Regions from separate parts of the Homo sapiens genome. Here region 2 is linked to region 1. Evidence: promoter capture Hi-C in human tissues and cell types (Jung and others, 2019). All regions are on one chromosome and are shown on one strand. The core of a region is centred on a gene start or on the middle of the fragment in contact, and the rest is flanking DNA. Distances in the headings are between cores, read along the strand shown.

Evidence for each region. The method cuts DNA at HindIII sites, captures the fragments that hold promoters and counts their contacts. A contact is called where the count stands out against the background at its distance.
Region 2: a fragment that was not itself captured here is called in contact with the fragment with the promoter of OLIG1 in region 1 in 2 of the 25 tissues and cell types used here (IMR-90 fibroblasts and dorsolateral prefrontal cortex).

The regions. Positions count from the first base shown.
Region 1 is chr21:33,067,566-33,072,352 of GRCh38, forward strand. OLIG1 (oligodendrocyte transcription factor 1) reads left to right here and starts at 2,576. Exons shown (of 1, transcript NM_138983.3): 1 at 2,576-4,787. The coding sequence starts at 2,682. The coding sequence ends at 3,497. The HindIII fragment of the contact is 10,124 bases long and covers 1-4,741 here.
Region 2 is chr21:32,950,140-32,954,988 of GRCh38, forward strand. No RefSeq gene overlaps it. Among named protein-coding and RNA genes, the nearest start is that of LINC01690, 6.3 kb to the right of the region's middle. The HindIII fragment of the contact is 5,013 bases long and covers 1-4,849 here.

The DNA of each region.
Region 1 (4,787 bases), core at 1,326-3,825:
TGTTTCCATCTGTTTGACTCCTGGGTGCCCCTTCCTGTGGGTGGGAAATGGGGAGCGTACAAGTTAGGCAACAGGCCAAGGCTTTAGATTTTATCTTCCCCATTCACTTCCTCTTTCTGCTGGCAGGGTAAGACCCTACGGGCCCCACCTAGGCTGTGTGCAGGGGAGGAAGCCGGAGGGGGATGTCACCAGGGCCTGCCCCAATCTGGCACCTCAGCTACAGGACAGAGGGTCCTGACAGTGAGGGTGGGCATTGCCGAAGAGGCTGGAGCAGGGTTTATGGTGGCAGGATTCTGGGGACACTCTCTTGGGGAACATGGCTGGAACCCACCAACTCATCAATATTGGCACAGTCTAGGCTGGCCCCTCCATCCTTACACCCAATCCCCAACCCGCCCCATCATGGCCCCCTCCTGGGCTTCCTGGAAGCCTGGTTCTGCTGGAGGGAATTCAGGAAGCCAGTCCTTGGTGGGGCCGCTCTGCCTGTCCTGTCTGAAGGCACAGAGCAATCTACTGCCTTCTGGGAGCCTCAGTTATATCATGGACATCAAGGGATCAAAAATGCCCAGCTCACAGGGGCCCCATGAGAACCAAACGTGAAAGTGTCTGTAAAAATGACTTGAAAGCAAGCTGCTTCAACAGAAGGCGAAATGATTAGTGAGGTGTTAAACTTAATTGCTTGAAACATTCAAGACCCTTCCCTTGGTCTCTCTCTCTCCTTCCTGCTTAGTATGGTTCTGCTTAAGCACTCAGCTCCTTCCTACCAAGGCTTCCCTCTCTCTCCCAAAGTGGGGCCCCCAGCACCACGTCCATGTCAGGCCAGGCCCCTCTGAGAGGCAGGAGATCTTACCAGGTTCCTTCCCTCTCTATAAAACCTTTAGGAAAATGCTTGGGTTAGAGCATTGCCAGGAGTTTGTGCATTTAAGGGATGAGCCTCTGAGCTAAGGGAGATTTCAGACCATCTTTAGAGACCTCCAGGACACACAGTAAGTGCCAAGCACTGTGCTAGGCTTCAGGAAGATGGAGAAATGAGCAGGTGGTCCCTACCGTAAAACAATCATAGCCAAATGCAGAGATGGTATCTACATAACACAATAGGCTATGAAGAAATCCTATCAATGGTTTGCCAAGAGTCATGAAAGGAGGAAGAGGAGAAATCACCAAGGCTTCCAGAAGAAAGCAAGGTTGGAGCTGAACCTGAGGCATAGGCAGGATGCTACAGGCAGAGCTGGGGGTCAGAAGCAAAGATCAGAGTGAACCCATGTGGCAAATATTGGTGGAAGAAAACCAGAACAAAGCAGCCCTGAAACCAGCAAGCACAGCCACCAAGATGCCCTCTTCCCCAGGACATTGACAAGTTATAGTAGCATGCACTGGTGCTGGGGGCAGAAAATGTCCATAGACACCAAGTAATGCTATTCTATTTGGCAAATAAAATGATTCATTCCCACCCTCAACCGATAGGACTATGTGGGTGTTTTGTTTTGTTTCTAATAAGAGGCCAATTTCTGAGTGACTTTTGCTTAAGCAAATGTCAAGTTGCTGATAGACCATCCCTTTCGGGGAGGATAGAAACCCGACCCAAAGGCTCCTTTGTCCCTAAAGACCTTTCAATCAGAGGGATGGGGAAGGAGGTTGGGAGCAGCAGGGAGGAAATATCCTAATGCTACTTGTCATTTAGTCCAGAAATTTAGCGACCTGAACCTGGCAGGAAATTATGTATTTTAAGAAAAAAAAAACATGATACACTCATGTTCATAGCAGCATAATTCGCAACAACCAAAAGCACCCCAAATGTCCATCAACGAATGAATGGATAAACCAAATGTGGTATATCCATATACTGGAATATTATTCAGCCTTGAAAAGGAAGAAACTTTGATACATGCTACAACATGGATAAACCTTGACGACAATATGCTAAGTGAAAGAAGCCAGTCACTAAAAGACAAGTGCTGTATGATTCTACTTATATGAGGGACCTAGAGTAGAACAAATTCATAGAGACAGAACAGAAGAGTGAATTCCAGGAACTTGGGTCGGGGGGAGTGGGGAGTTGTTTAATGGGTGGAGCTTCAGGGTTGCAAGTTGAAAAGAGTTCTGGAGATGGGTTGCACAACAATGTGAATTTAATTTAAATCAATTTAATGTGCACACTAATGCATATAACATTACTGAACAGTACTCTAAACATAAGACGGTAAATTTTATGTTATGAATATGTGATCACAGTTAAAAAAAAATATGAGGGAGGTTGTTTTTGAGTAGACAGTTGCTGGAGGAAGGCACGTGAGTTGCAGCCTGACCAGTGCGACCAGTCCTCCTTCAACAGCCCCGCTTGCCTTGAAAAGGCGCCCTTACTCCGCTCAGGGGGCCTGTCCCGCGCGGCTGGCACAGGCGCTCACAATAACCTCCTAAAGCGGTGCCAGCCGCACCTCCGCGCGGCCCCGGCACAAGCAGCCAATGAACACGCGGCTGCGCCCGGCCTCGCGCCTCCATTGGCTGCGCCCCGCCACCCGCTGCCCCGCAGGTTCCCAAGCCGGGTTTAAAGGGGTAGGGCGCGGGCCAGGGCCCCACCATCGTTTCCCCGCGCGCAGGTCCGCGGGGAGGGGCGGCCTGCCGACCGGCCCACCCCAGGGCGTTCCTGAAGGGCGTCCTCGGCCGCCCCCACCGCCTCCCAGATGTACTATGCGGTTTCCCAGGCGCGCGTGAACGCGGTCCCCGGGACCATGCTGCGGCCACAGCGGCCCGGAGACTTGCAGCTCGGGGCCTCCCTCTACGAGCTGGTGGGCTACAGGCAGCCGCCCTCCTCCTCCTCCTCCTCCACCTCCTCCACCTCCTCCACTTCCTCCTCCTCCACGACGGCCCCCCTCCTCCCCAAGGCTGCGCGCGAGAAGCCGGAGGCGCCGGCCGAGCCTCCAGGCCCCGGGCCCGGGTCAGGCGCGCACCCGGGCGGCAGCGCCCGGCCGGACGCCAAGGAGGAGCAGCAGCAGCAGCTGCGGCGCAAGATCAACAGCCGCGAGCGGAAGCGCATGCAGGACCTGAACCTGGCCATGGACGCCCTGCGCGAGGTCATCCTGCCCTACTCAGCGGCGCACTGCCAGGGCGCGCCCGGCCGCAAGCTCTCCAAGATAGCCACGCTGCTGCTCGCCCGCAACTACATCCTACTGCTGGGCAGCTCGCTGCAGGAGCTGCGCCGCGCGCTGGGCGAGGGCGCCGGGCCCGCCGCGCCGCGCCTGCTGCTGGCCGGGCTGCCCCTGCTCGCCGCCGCGCCCGGCTCCGTGCTGCTGGCGCCCGGCGCCGTAGGACCCCCCGACGCGCTGCGCCCCGCCAAGTACCTGTCGCTGGCGCTGGACGAGCCGCCGTGCGGCCAGTTCGCTCTCCCCGGCGGCGGCGCAGGCGGCCCCGGCCTCTGCACCTGCGCCGTGTGCAAGTTCCCGCACCTGGTCCCGGCCAGCCTGGGCCTGGCCGCCGTGCAGGCGCAATTCTCCAAGTGAGGGCGGGCCTGGGCCTGGGGCGCGACCTCGGCCCGGCCTCCCTTCGCTCAGCTTCTCCGCGCCCCTGCTCCCTGCGTCTGGGAGAGCGAGGCCGAGCAAGGAAAGCATTTCGAACCTTCCAGTCCAGAGGAAGGGACTGTCGGGCACCCCCTTCCCCGCCCCCACCCCTGGGACGTTAAAGTGACCAGAGCGGATGTTCGATGGCGCCTCGGGGCAGTTTGGGGTTCTGGGTCGGTTCCAGCGGCTTTAGGCAGAAAGTGCTCGCTCTCACCCAGCACATCTCTCTCCTTGTCCCTGGAGTTGCGCGCTTCGCGGGGCCGATGTAGAACTTAGGGCGCCTTGCCGTGGTTGGCGCGCCCCGGGTGCAGCGAGAGGCCATCCCCGAGCGCTACCTCCCCGGAGCGGAGCACGCCGGCTCCCAGTACTAGGGGCTGCGCTCGAGCAGTGGCGGGGGCGGAGGGGTGGTTCTTTTCCTTCTCCTCCGCCAGAGGCCACGGGCGCCCTTGTTCCCGCCGGCCAGGTCCTATCAAAGGAGGCTGCCGGAACTCAAGAGGCAGAAAAAGACCAGTTAGGCGGTGCAGACGGTCTGGGACGTGGCAGACGGACGGACCCTCGGCGGACAGGTGGTCGGCGTCGGGGTGCGGTGGGTAGGGGCGAGGACAACGCAGGGTGCGCTGGGTTGGGACGTGGGTCCACTTTTGTAGACCAGCTGTTTGGAGAGCTGTATTTAAGACTCGCGTATCCAGTGTTTTGTCGCAGAGAGTTTTCGCTCTTAAATCCTGGGGGTTTCTTAGAAAGCAACTTAGAACTCGAGATTCACCTTTCGTTTCCCTTTCCCCAAAAGTAGCGTAACCAACATTTAAGCTTGCTTAAAAACGAAAACCAACCGCCTTGCATCCAGTGTTCCCGATTTACTAAAATAGGTAACCAGGCGTCTCACAGTCGCCGTCCTGTCAAGAGCGCTAATGAACGTTCTCATTAACACGCAGGAGTACCGGGAGCCCTGAACCGCCCGCTGCTCGGCGGATCCCAGCTGCGGTGGCGACGGCGGGAAGGCGCTTTCCGCTGTTCCTCAGCGGGCCGGGCCCTTGACCAGCGCGGCCCGCAGGTCTTCCTTCTCGCCGTCTTGCAGTTGAAGAGCTACATACGTAGTCAGTTTCGATTTGTTACAGACGTTAACAAATTCCTTTACCCAAGGTTATGCTATGACCTTTCCGCAGTTTACTTTGATTTTCTATGTTTAAGGTTTTGGTTGTTGGTAGTAGCCGAATTTAACTGGCACTTTATTTT
Region 2 (4,849 bases), core at 1,130-3,629, 120 kb before region 1:
TCATGTGCCCAGGGTTGGTGGGATGGCTCTGCTCCATAGGTCCTGAGGGGCTGCTCTACCTCCTTAGCACAGCTTCTTATAGCACCAGAGGTCCAGCCATCACGTCTGCATTCCAGTCAGCAGGAAGAAAGGAGAGCAAAGAAGGGAATGTCCCTTCCCTTACAGTATGCTTTCTGGAAGTTGTATACCACTTCTACCTTCAGCCTTTGGCTAGGACTTAGTCTCAAGGACACACTTAGCTGGAAGCAATACTGCAAAATGCAGTGTTGTTATTCCACGTGGACCTGTGCCCAGGTATAAACTGGGGCCTCTACTGCAAAGGAAGCAGAACAGAATTGACATTGGGTGGGGCGGGCAGAGGGGGGTTACTGTCTAGACTCTGCCAGAGTCCAAGGGCACTCTGTCCCAAGAGTCAAGGGACCTTTTCCTAATTTCAATTCTGCAAATGATTTGTCAGCCCGGTTGAGGAGCAGGCTAGGACAGCATGCACAGATGCCGTCTTGCTCAACTTAACCCTTCTTCATTTGTGCATTTTCATTTAATACACTTGGATTTGGTACAGAGAAGGGGAATAGGGTTCTAGACACTGAAGGAAATGAAATCCCCACATGGCTCAGAGCGTGGGGATTTTGCTACTTGAAATACCATTGTACCCTCTCCACTTTCAAATGAAGATCCTGACATTGTTTTCCAGAACAATTGCACCGTCCAGACTCAGGGACCCACAAAAGTGTCAATTCACCGCATGTTGGCTTTTTTTTTTTTTTTTTTTTAAACTAATTGTAACAAGTGGTTGCTGTGAAACGCAGGCTTCCGAAGGCTGCCCTTCCAGTGACCCATACCCTGACCTGGACAGACCACCTTCTGTCCAAAAGAGGAAAAGTTTTGTTCTTAGATCAGATGAAACCCTGGCTTACCCCTGGTGACCAGCGGGATTAATCAGACACCAGTAAAACAGCTGACAGAAACACTGAACCAACTCACAATAACCAGCACACACATCAGGCAGCATTCCTCTGCGGGGTCTTACCTCATCCCTTTCTTTTGCCCTGAGATGCAATCCCTGCTTCCTGAGGCCGTGTTCTCTGTGCTTCTTAAAGGGAGCCACTTGCAAGCTAAGAAGCTGCCCATTTTTAGGATCAATATGGTATTCCCCCAAGTTGGTTAGAAAACACAATGGCAGGGACAGAATTTGCAGCAGGGGTTTGTAGAGGATTAGGGCTGCTTCGCCAGGATTTATCGCCCCATGCACAACCCAGACTGAAACCCTGGTCGCAGTCTGGGTGGTTTAGAATGAGCCAACAGGCATTGCCATCAGTTTTAGGCCTTTGAAAAGTAAAATCTTCCCAACGTGCAAAAAGTAACCACTAAAAATGGACCATAACCAGATGCAAAGAAAGAATGAAAGATTGTGAAAGGAAAAAAAAATTCTGAAACTGTATTTGGAAGGTTCCTGCAGAAGGGGTCCTTCTGAAAGTATGCAGCAGGCTTCATAGCTTGCCCAACAGTCATGTACATTTCAGAATGTAACTTTCCAAAGCAAGTTGCTTCTTTGCTTTACTACCTGCAGAGAGCCACCTGCTTCATTTAATCGTGCTTTGGGTTCTGTTTTATTTTTACTGTATCCCATTTTCCAGGGCAAAAAGCAGAAAGCAAATAAAACCACATTTTTGCTACTAACTTAATATGAAATCTATTTTAATTCAGAATGATTTCCCTCCACTTTTATTTTAAAACATGTTTAAGAAGAAAAGCAAGCTTAGAGGATTTCTGGTCCTAAATACAGCGATTTCAAGGATTGTTATCAAAACCCTGAAGGGCAGTGTTAAAGAATGGGATAACCTTGAAATATAGGATGGCTAAGAAGTGAGAGCAAAATATCACTCACTAGTGGCTATTTGTAACCAGAGTTATGCCAGGGAAGGGAGAAAGCAGTGAGAGCCGGCAATATTTGAGACGGAAAGAGATGACAGAGAAAGGTATCTTTAGCGAGGAAAGCATTTAGTGACTTTAAATCAGATGCCAAAAGAATATTTACTGGGGGAAAAATCAATTTTTCTGTGCTGTGGAGGAAGCATTTCAAAGTAAGACAACCTTTATTTCCAAATGCCTTCTGGAGGCCCTCCCCGGAGGACACAACACCAACGCTATTAATCTTGACTTAGTGAATGAACGTATTATACGGATTTCAATCCAGATCTTCAAGTCTTAAAGAGTTCTGAAGAGCCCAGATAAAGCAACCCGTTTTTCCTTTGGTGATTCCTCAGGGGTAACTCACTTTAATTCCCCTTTCATCTCTATGGGAGGACTCGGAACTTTAAAAGCAAACAGGTTTCCTATACTAATTCCTGGAGAGAAGGCTTCTGTTGCTTTCTTGCTGCTGCGAGACTGAAGGTGGGTGACCATCTTCATTTGTTACCTTGGAAGATGTGGAGAACCAGAAGTAAGTTTGAAATAATAGGCCAACGGTAGCTGTCTCCTTTCTTCGAGGAAAGTTATTGCCCTTCCAAATGCCAGTTTGTTTTTTGATTTTCCACGGTCCAGCCCCGTATTTAACACAGAAAGATGCTTTAGAAGCCAGAACACTGATAATAACCCCAAATATACACAAAGACAAAGCAGAGGGCATGCCTGTTTTGTCCCGTCAGACAAATTATGATCTAAATTTTCTGCCAACACCACTTTTTTTCCCCTGATTGTTTATGGCAACAGCAGCCTGTTTATTGAGATTCTAAACTGCAATGAAATTTTCTGGGATTGAAAAAAAGAGAATAAGAGAGTTAGAGAGAGAGAGAAGGCTTATTATGTAGAAGTAAACTGTTTCAAATGGAAACCTGACTCCCATTGTGGAAAGGGAAAGCATTGAGGAAAATTACGCCAGATTATCTAGGCTAAAGGAAAAATTTTATGCCTCACTGTGCCACTTGCAAGGAACAGGAGAGGAAAGAAAACACAGAAACTGTGTGGCAACAAATGACTAAATTGGGACGCAGAGATAGCAGCCTTGCTAGGTTCAGTCCAACTTGTACAAGAATGGTAACAACCTAAGGCAGAGATATACCAACAATTATCTGTTACCCAGGGATTATATTAATAAAACAGCCAGGGAGGGAAATGGCTCCATTTAACTAACTTTTTTTTTTTTTTTTTTTTTTGGGGGGGAGTTGGAGTCTTGTTCTGTTGCCCAGGCTGGAGTGCAGTGGCGCAATCTCGGCTCACTGCAACCTCTGCCTCCTGGGTTGAAGCAATTCTCCTGCCTCAGCCTCCCGGGTAGCTGGGATTACAGGCACCCGCCACTGCACCCGGCTAATTTTTGTATTTTTAGCAGAGATGGGGTTTCACTATCTTGTCCAGGCTGGTCTGGAACTCCTGACCTCATGATCCAACCATCTTGGCCTCCCAAAGTGCTGGGATTACAAGGGTGAGCCAACGCACCCAGCTACTACATTTTGACATAAAGTCCGAAGACGGGACACAGGTCAGCACTTTTCATCCTAAAGGGTTATCAAAAGACATCAACTTGTATAAAAACTGGTGTGAAAATCGAGTGATGTTTTAGTTGATGTCATATGTTTTGTTCTCTCATGTGTCCAGATCCCGGAATAGGCTGAGAAAAATAGAACCTGGAGTGTAAAAAGAAAAAAGAAACATGTTAGTGGATATAGGACATTTTGCAGCTCTCAATTTGATCTGTTCCACAGTCGTCACACAGGATGAGAAGATTGTAGGAATGTGGAAAAAATTAGAATAACCTTGCATTTCGAGTTATGGAAAAGAAACTTTTAAGCTTTTAACATTTCTGTGAGAACAACATGAACCTGACAGCTAAATCACTGAAATATTGATCACATTACAAATAAAAATTCAAACAAATTCGTTTCAATTGAAAGAGGAAAAACATTGATACTACTACTGCTCATTGGTATGGTGATATGCAAATGTGGACTCCAATAAAGGAATTTGTCTAATTTTTGGACCACAATTATGTGAGGGAATATCAAAATGTTTATAATTTGCAACAACACAAGGATGTAGATTTTGTCTGATTTTGTTAATCTCTGAAAGGCTTATTTTTGATGTGAATTAATTGGATAGTCTAATATGCTCCCTTTCAGCCCACCATAAATATCTGTGAATTAAATTATGTAAACAGTTTCCTCAAAAGCAGAAGCATTGCTAACTCCCTTCCCCCGCATTAAATAGTTCTATATGAGTTGACAGAAGGAGTTGGCTGTGTGACCTTTCGCAATGAACGGGGAACATAGCCCCCTCTGGCCTGAATCTGAGAGAAGCCCCTTCCCAAAGCCCTTATGAGATGATATACCAGAAAACAACACATCTGACCAAGAAGTCTCTGAAGTTGCAGCCTTTTGTATTTACACTTTTGAGCTATCTCCATTGTGATGCAAATCTCGATTTTCAATCAAAATTGGCTAGAAAAAAAAATCTTTCTCTGGAAACCGTTGTAGGAAGCACGTAAGCCTAAATCTTAAATTTTCTCTGTTCTGACTTCCTATTAAGCCACAAAACAAATGTTATCAAACACATACACCTTTTGCAACTGCGGATTGAAAACTCAACCGTGTCAACTAGCATTTTTAACTAACTATAGTTTTAGTCTTAAAGGGTGCTGAGTTTATGCGTTATAAATGAACACCCCCCTCCCTTTTTTTTTCTCTCTAATTTGGGTGCTCACGTCAAAAGCATCTAAAAGCATTTTAACTTTTGTCGACTGTCCCAATTCAAGTTTGTTTGAGAGAGTCCTCCCTTCTTAGCTTGGATCCTTTATATAAGTCCAGATGAATAAAATAAAATGAAATGCAAAAGGAAGGCATCATTAATGGCTTGA